Regions from separate parts of the Homo sapiens genome. Here all the other regions are linked to region 1. The links are contacts of gene promoters, found by promoter capture Hi-C in blood cells and fetal thymus (Javierre and others, 2016). All regions are on one chromosome and are shown on one strand. The core of a region is centred on a gene start or on the middle of the fragment in contact, and the rest is flanking DNA. Distances in the headings are between cores, read along the strand shown.

The links. Contacts are between HindIII fragments. The CHiCAGO score rates a contact against its expected background, and 5 or more counts as called.
Region 2: a contact is called between a fragment that was not itself captured here and the fragment with the promoter of IDI2-AS1 in region 1, in 1 of 17 cell types (monocytes). The highest score is 6.9, in monocytes.
Region 3: a contact is called between a fragment that was not itself captured here and the fragment with the promoter of IDI2-AS1 in region 1, in 1 of 17 cell types (monocytes). The highest score is 5.5, in monocytes.

The regions. Positions count from the first base shown.
Region 1 is chr10:1,021,267-1,023,970 of GRCh38, forward strand. IDI2-AS1 (IDI2 antisense RNA 1) reads left to right here and starts at 1,371. Exons shown (of 5, transcript NR_027709.1): 1 at 1,371-1,517. It overlaps IDI2 (isopentenyl-diphosphate delta isomerase 2), which reads right to left. Exons shown (of 5, transcript NM_033261.3): 3 at 1,417-1,509. The HindIII fragment of the contact is 10,709 bases long and covers 1-2,704 here.
Region 2 is chr10:841,568-844,271 of GRCh38, forward strand. It overlaps LARP4B (La ribonucleoprotein 4B), which reads right to left. Exons shown (of 18, transcript NM_015155.3): 7 at 1,365-1,501. Among named protein-coding and RNA genes, the nearest start is that of LARP4B, 89 kb to the right of the region's middle. The HindIII fragment of the contact is 4,915 bases long and covers 1-2,704 here.
Region 3 is chr10:857,584-860,287 of GRCh38, forward strand. The region is part of intron 5 of LARP4B (La ribonucleoprotein 4B); the gene reads right to left. Among named protein-coding and RNA genes, the nearest start is that of LARP4B, 73 kb to the right of the region's middle. The HindIII fragment of the contact is 1,648 bases long and covers 506-2,153 here.

The DNA.
Region 1 (2,704 bases), core at 121-2,620:
TGGGGCTGTGGGCTGGGTGGCTGCACCAGCTGGGCTGAGGAAGCTGGGCTGCACTTTGAGGGTGGTGATCAGTGAGCATGGTTTCACAGGAAGACTGCTGGAATACCTTTGACCAAGTTTCCTTACTGAGAGGTTCTACTTAATTTACCCAAGTAACAGCAATAGCGCTATGACGGGAGGTCACACTCTCCTCAGTAAATCTCTGTTCCCTCTCGTTCCTCAGACCCTCAGTGCTTCCTTCGGTCACTCTGCAAGGAGTTTGGCTGAAGTTGAATCCACTCTTGCAAGTACAAGAGCTGGTACTCCCACCTGCCCCTATGTATCCTGGAGGCGGCTAACACATGATAGGAAATCTTAGCTCCAGGGGCTTTATTTGCAAACTGTTGACTATGTACTACAGTTGACCCTCTTAACTTTGCAGCTCCTGAATTTTTCTGAAACAAACTTTGCATTCAGCTCCATCAAGGAGCCCGTGAGTACAACTTGACCAGCAAGTATGGTGGTGGGTTTGGGAATGGGCAGGATGTACCCACTGCGGCTCCGAGGAAGAACTAAGGGAGGAGAAAACCTCGGCCACAGCTGGCCGTGCTTAGCCATTCGCTTTAATGGCTCAGGCAAGGTCTGGTTTTGAAAATTTGAGGACAGCCTAGGCCAAAACACTTTAAATGACCACAATTGACGTAAATGCTGTTCCCCTCTAAAAAATTTTTTGGCCGGGCCCGGTGGCTCACGCCTATAATCCCAGCACTTTGGAAGGCCAAGACAGGCATATCACGAGGTCAGGAGATCGAGACCATCCTGGCTAACACGGTGAAACCCCGTCTCTACTAAAAATACAAAACGTTACCCGGGTGTGGTGGCGGGCGCCTGTAGTCCCAGCTACTTGGGAGGCTGAGGCAGGACAATGGCGTGAACCCAGGAGGCGGGGCTTGCAGTGAGCCGAGATGGCGCCACTGCACTCCAGCCTGGGTGACTGAGCCAGACTCCATCTCCAAAAAAAAAAAAAAATTTTAAGTTGTAATTTTAAGAAGTACAAGATAATTAAAACTCTAAGACCTGTAAGATAATTTTTATTATTATTACCTAGTTAATTTTATGCTAAATGCTATTTTAATCCCCTAAATCCTTAGGTTGATAAATTCCTCTGCATTTAAGTAACTTGCCGTTGCAAAGAAACAACAAAACAAAAAAACCCAGAAACTCATATAGTTTCTTACTTTTTTAAAAAAGAAAACCCAGCCTACTGAAGAGCTATCAGCATAATTAGCATCTGCCTAAGCTGCCGATTTTCTGCAGGATGAGCTGCCAGCTCACCACAGTGCGGCACTGAGCACCAGAGAGTTCCTGTCCCAGATTCCTCCGGTCAAGTCACATGAGATGCTCTCTTCAGTCCGGGGCTTGGTTGAACGGACTCACCAGGAAACGTGACTTTCGTGTCCGACCTCTGCTGTATCAGGATTCGATTCTTGGTGTTAAACAAGACAACGCTGAAGGCTCGGTGCAGCAGCCCTGCAAAGGTAAGTGCCATTTGTGTGAGTGCATGCCTGGAGTCTGTACGATTGTCCTTCGTGCTTTTTGTCCTCAGTCTGTTTCTCGTAGAAAAGCCTGTGATTGTGGCACCTGGGCAGGGCAAAGGGGACTGCTGGATGCCCAAACACAACGTTTCAGAATCTCAGCGGATTAGAACACTCGGGAAACTAAAAATAGATCTACCAGATGACCCAGAAATCCCACTACCAGGGCAAATATCCAAAATAAAAGAGATCAGTCTATCAGAGAGATATCGCAGCATTCCTGGGTGCTGAGCACCATTTACGACAGCCAAGATATGAGATCAACCTGTGTCCGTGGAGGTTTGAAGGGTTGAAAACATGAGGGTTAGATACACAGTGGCATACCATTCCACCACAAAAGAAGAATGAAATCGGGCCGGGTGCGGTGGCTCACGCCTGTAATCTCAGCACTTTGGGAGGCTGAAGTGGGCGGATCACGAGGTCAGAAGATCGAGACCACCCTGGCTAACATGGTGAAACCCCGTCTCTACTAAAAATACAAAAAAATTAGCTGGGCGTGGTGGCAGGTGCCTGTAGTCCAAGCTACTCGGGAGGCTGAGGCAGGAGAATGGCATGAACCCAGGAGGCAGAGCTGGCAGTGACCTGAGATTGCACCACTGCACTCCAGCCTGGGCAATGGAGCAAGACTCTGTCTCAAAAAAAAAAAAAAAAAGAAGAATGAAATCCTGTCATTTGTAGCAACATGGATGGAACTGGAGGCCATTGTGTTAAGTGGAACAAACCTGGCACAGAAAAACAAGTATCACATGTTCTCACTGCTATGTGGGCTCTAAAGAAGTTGATCTCATGGAGGCAGAAAACACAATGCTAGACACCAGAGGCTGCGAAGGGCAGTGGGGAGGGATGACGAGAGGGTGGTTAATAAGTATAAACATACCGCGATAGAGAAGGAATAATATCAGCTGTTCAATAGCACAGTAGGGTGACTGTAGTTAACAACAGTGTATTATATGTTTCAATGTGGCTAGAACAGAGGATTTGGAATGTTCCCAACACAAAGATATGATGAATGTTTGAGGTGATGGATATCCCAAAATGCCCTATTTGATCATTATGCATGACATGGTGGTATCAAACTATCACATGTACCCCATTAATATGCATAATTATTATGTGTTTATAAAAAAGAC
Region 2 (2,704 bases), core at 60-2,559, 180 kb before region 1:
GGCAGCAGCGTTTGCAAGGTCTGTCCGAAAAGGAATAACTAAACCTGAAACTCCTAATCATAACCAAAAAGACTTCAGAGTACAAACAGGGACAAGAATGCTGCTGGCCTTTCAAAGATGGGGCCCAATTCAGCTGGCACAGACAACAGCTTCTGTTCTGCATGATGACACCAGGGAGCACGGCGCCATCCTGGGAGACAGCAGTGCCGCTCTCAGAACTCACAGTCAATGGTAATTATGTTTGTCAGTTTTTTCACTGTCTCCAATAATTTAATAACCCATGCTATTTGTCTAAAAACAGAAAAACATAAAACTTTTATTTTATATTTTATTTGTGAAAAGAAAATCCAACTAAGTTCTCATGTAAGATGCTCACTTTTTTATACTACTGTAAAGTCAAATTCATACAAGAAAAAAAAAAAACCTGCACAGACTGTCGTCAGTACAGATAAGCCAGGGACAACGTGAAAACCCTTCTATGTGAGTATAGGCAGTGGACTTAATTGAGACTTGAAGTCAGGCTTAGCAATGTCCAATCACTCAAAACTATGTAGGGGCACCATCCACACTTAATGCTTAAACACTGTTTGATGTTGCCAAACTTCAAAGAAACAACTTCACTCACAACATAATTTTTTTTTTTTTTTATGAGATGGAGTCTATCTCTGTCGCCAGGCTGGAGTGCAATGGCACAATCTCAGCTAACTGCAACCTCCGCCTCCTGGGTTCAAGTGATTTCCCTGCCTCAGCCTCTCAAGTACCTGGGATTACAAGCACACACCACCACGCCCAGCTAATTTTTTGTATTTTAGTGGAGACAGGGTTTCACCATGTTGGCCAAGACAGTCTCAATCTCCTGACCTCATGATCCGCCCAACTCGACCTCCAAAAGTGCTGGGATTACACGCGTAAGCCACCACACCTGGCCCACAACATAATTTTAAGAAAAATTGCAATAATTATTTCATCCGAACATAAACAGGAAGTTGCAATTTGAAAGAAAAACCTCTAGTGGTAAAACTGTAACTAAAGTGTATTTTACTTTAACTATAAATGTTATTTTTATTTTGTTTTTCATGAATGAAACAGCTATCTTTAAAATCCCCATTAACAAGATTCTTTTCTACTTCATATGTCCCAAAACTTGTTTGAGGTTTCATAACGGGTTCAACTGGCATTCCCAGGGACTATCAGGCGCTACTCCAGAATTATTGGACCTGGGCAGAAAGGAACGGAAGGCCAGAAAAGAATCTGATTCGCCATCAAGGACCTTAACGTTTGATGGCTATAGATTTAAAGGTTCATGCTGATAAGACAAATACTCTAAGGACAAGTATTATTAATTTAAATTGTCATTTACTTACATCTTAGCACTTCCACAATCAAGTCCACATCAGTGCTGAGCTTCTTGATGTGGTCGAGGTTAGCCACCGTTGTGATTGGCACATACTGGTCACTATCCATCTGTGATATAAGATACATGTCACTAGCAAGGTTCTCCCTGTTGAAAGAAAACAATCTCTTTTAATCAGTATTTCTTTAAAAGGAAGTTTCACCTACTGTAATTCCAGTTTCACAAGAGGCGTGAGTGTGGCATGGTATTGCTTTGGAGTTAAATCTCAGCCCAGGACCCATCTGTTATTTGCTGTCTCTCCAGCCTCAGGTACATTTTTGCAAAATCTCGGCCTTGGAGAGGCAGGGAGTGCAAAAGTAAAAGTATACTGTACTTTCTACAATCAAAATTTATGAGAAGATGGTTATTTTTAAATAAGATGTAATTATTTATAGCTGTCATTTTTGTCCTAAGAAGTAGCTTAAGAGTTTATTAAAAATGCATACAATTTTGTTAGGCCGGGCACGGTGGCTCACGCCTGGAATCCCAGCACTTTGGGGGGCCAAGGTAGGCAGATCATCTGGGTTCAGGAGTTTAAGACCAGCCTGACCAACATGGTGAAACCCCATCTCTACTAAAAATACAAAAATTAGCCAGGCATGGTGGCGGGCACCTGTAATCCCAGCTACTCGGGAGGCTCAGGCAGGAGAATCGCTTGAACCCGAGAGGTGGAGGTTACAGTGAGCCAAGATCACACCACTGCACTCTAGCCTGGGCGACAAGAGTGAAACTCTGACTCAAAAAAAAAGAAAGAAAAACAATTTAAAGTAAAGAAATCCAGCTCAATGAACAAGAAAGGAAAACATAAAAAGGCCAGGATAAGGTCATACCCAAAATTCCTCCTGTAGACTCTGGAACACTCACCAGAGGGCCTATATCCAGCCCTGGCTTCCTAGCAGCCAGAATTAAAAAGAAGGAAACAGTAACTTTACCCACAAAATCCAAAGGTGAGCCACAAATCATCAGCAGTTTGGGCCATGATGAGCTATTTTCTGGTGTTTTGGCCAAAGATCAATGTTTCCTGTGAATTCTCAAGGCATCATGTAATGTAGTGAACAAGGCCCTAAGAAACATTTCAAAACTGAGCACAGTGCTGGGTTCCTGGGGCCTCTGCTCAGTGTCCCTCGGTGAAGGCCCATGACTGCCGATCAAACGGAGGCCATGCAGGAGGAGGCCCTGCTCCACCCTCATCTCGGCCATCTTCCAGGTGTAGCTGATTCTGGCCCCATGGGGCTACACATGGATGTGAGTGGCAGAGAGCTCACACTTGTGCTCCACTAGGGCGTTCCACTGGTGCCCCTGCACCTTTTG
Region 3 (2,704 bases), core at 80-2,579, 160 kb before region 1:
GGCCGGTCTGAAGACAGGAACCCAAGACTTTTTGTTCTGCATACGTCAAGCGCTCGGGAGTTTGTCTTAATAAGAGGTCCCACGTGTAAGGGGCTTTTGTCATCTCAACTCCTGCTGCCTGGTTAGTCTGTGTCAACAAGAGTCTTTGCTGATTGAGCTCATTCCTGACAGTAAATGTTTTGTGGGAGGTATCTTTGGAATTGCTTCTTCTATGTCCTCTCCAGGATCTATCCTGGACTTTATACACCACTGAAAATTCTAAATGTCAATGGCCAAAAGATGGATCCTTTAAATTAGAATTGTAAATTTAAAAAAGGATTTTAGAAATCTCATCCTAAACAACTGATAAAAACATCAAGAGCAAAAAGGGTGCTTGGCATCACTAACCACTAGGAAATGCAAGCCAATTTCTAGAAAGACCCAACAATGCTATGGTTAGCCTTAAAAATTCTCTTTAAAATTAAAGAGCAAAAATCTGACCTGAAACAAAATTAAAAATTTTTTAAGCTTAAACTCCTACTTTGGATCCCCCTGTTGGTTAACAATGAGGGCTCCTCTATATTCTTGTAGGCCCACAGTTAAAATTCCAGGCTTTCCCTGCGGTGGCCTATTAGACACACAGCCCAATGCAACAGAAGAGAGGGCCGAGAAAGAAATCCTTGCATACATGGCCAATTGTTTTTTTTAACAGGCGTGCCACGATCGTTCTATAGAGAAAGGGCAGTCTTTTCAATAAATAGTGCAAGGACAACTGGATATCCACATGCAAAAACAAAGTTGGATCCATACTTTATACCATATACAAAAATTAACTCAAAATGATCAAAGATCTAAATGTAAGACCCGAAATGATAAAACTCAGACGAAAACACAGACAAAACCTTCATTATAATAAATTCAACAATGTTATCTTAGATATGACACCAAAGGCATAGGCAGCCCAACAAAAAATAAACAAACTGAACATTATGAACATTTTAAATTTTGTACATCAAAAGACACTTTGAATAAAATAAAAAGGCAACCCATATAATGGAAGAAAATAATTGTGATTGATGTATCTGATCAGGGATTAATACACAGAATATATTGAGAACTCCTAAAGACATTAACAAAAACCTGATTCAAAAATAGGCAAAGGATTTGAATAGACATTTATCCAAAGAAGACAAATGGCCAATAAGAACAAAAAGGGTGCTTGGCATCACTAACCATTAGGGAAATGCAAGCCAAAACTACAAAGATATACCCACTAGAATGACTACTATCAAAAAAATCAGAAAATAGGCTGGGCGCAGTGGCTCATGCCTGTAATCACAGCACTTTGGCAGGCCGAGGCAGACAGATCACCTGAGGTCAGGAGTTCGAACCCAGCCTGGACAACATGGTTGAACCCTGTCTCTACAAAAAATACAAAAGTTAGCTGGGTGTGGTGGCTCACGCCTGTAATCCCAGCACTTTGGGAGGCTGAGATGGGCAGAGGTCAGGAGTTTGAGACCAGACTGGCCAACATGGTGAAACCCCGTATCTACTAAAAATACAAAATTTAGCTGGGCGTGGTGGCTCACACCTGTAATCTAGGCTACTTGGGAGGCTGAGGCAGGAGAATTGCTTGAACCCGGGAGGTGGACGTTGTAGTGAGCTGAGATTGCTCCAGTGCACTCCAGCCTGGGCAACAGAATTATTCCATTTCAAAAAAAAAAAAAAATCAGAAAATAACAAGTATTGGCAAGGATTTAATAAAACTGGAACCCTTGTACACTGATGGTGGGAATGTAAAATACTATGGCCTGTATGGAAAACTGTATGGTGATTCCACCAAAAAAAGTTAAACATAAGAATTACCATATGATCCAGAAATTCTACTTCTGGAAGGCAGTTCAGCAGCTTTCTACAGAACTAAACATACTCTGACCTTATGATCCAGCAATCACACTCCTGGGTATTTACCCAAAGGAGTTAAAAACTTCCTTCCGTACAAAAACCTGCACATGAATGCTAACAGCATCTTTATTTGTAATTGCCAAAACCTGGAAACAACCAAGATGTCCTTCAGTAGGTGAATGACTAAGTAATTTGTAGTATGTCCAGACAATGGAATGTTATTCAGTGCTAAAAAGAAATGAGTTATCAAGCCTTGAAGACATGGAGGAAGCTTAAATGTACGTTACTAAATGAAAGAAACCTATCTAAGAAGGCTACATCCTGCAGGATTCCAACCCTATGACATTCTGGAAAAGGTAAAACTATGGAGACAGTGAAAAAACCAATGGATGCTAGGGGTTGGGGGGAGGGAGGGGTGAGTAGGCAGAACACAGATGACTTTTAGGGCAGGGAAACTACTCTCTCTGATGCTACAATGGAGGGTACATGTCATTATACATTTCTCCAAACCCACAGAACGTACAACACCAAGAGTGAGCCCTCATGTAAACTGTAGACTCCAGGTAATAATGATGTGCCAATATAGGATCATCAATTATACAAAGGCACCCTCTGGTGAGGGAGTGTGAATAGTGAAGAAGGCCATGCATGTGTGGGGGTGGGGGGGAGGGGAGTATATGGGAGATCTCTATACCTTCCACTAAAACTCGCTGTGAACCTGAAAGTGCTCTAAAAAAAACAGTCTTTTTTTTAAAAAGGATGTTTGATAGCATTAGTCCTTAGGGAAACATAAATTAAAGCCACAGTAAGATTCTACTGT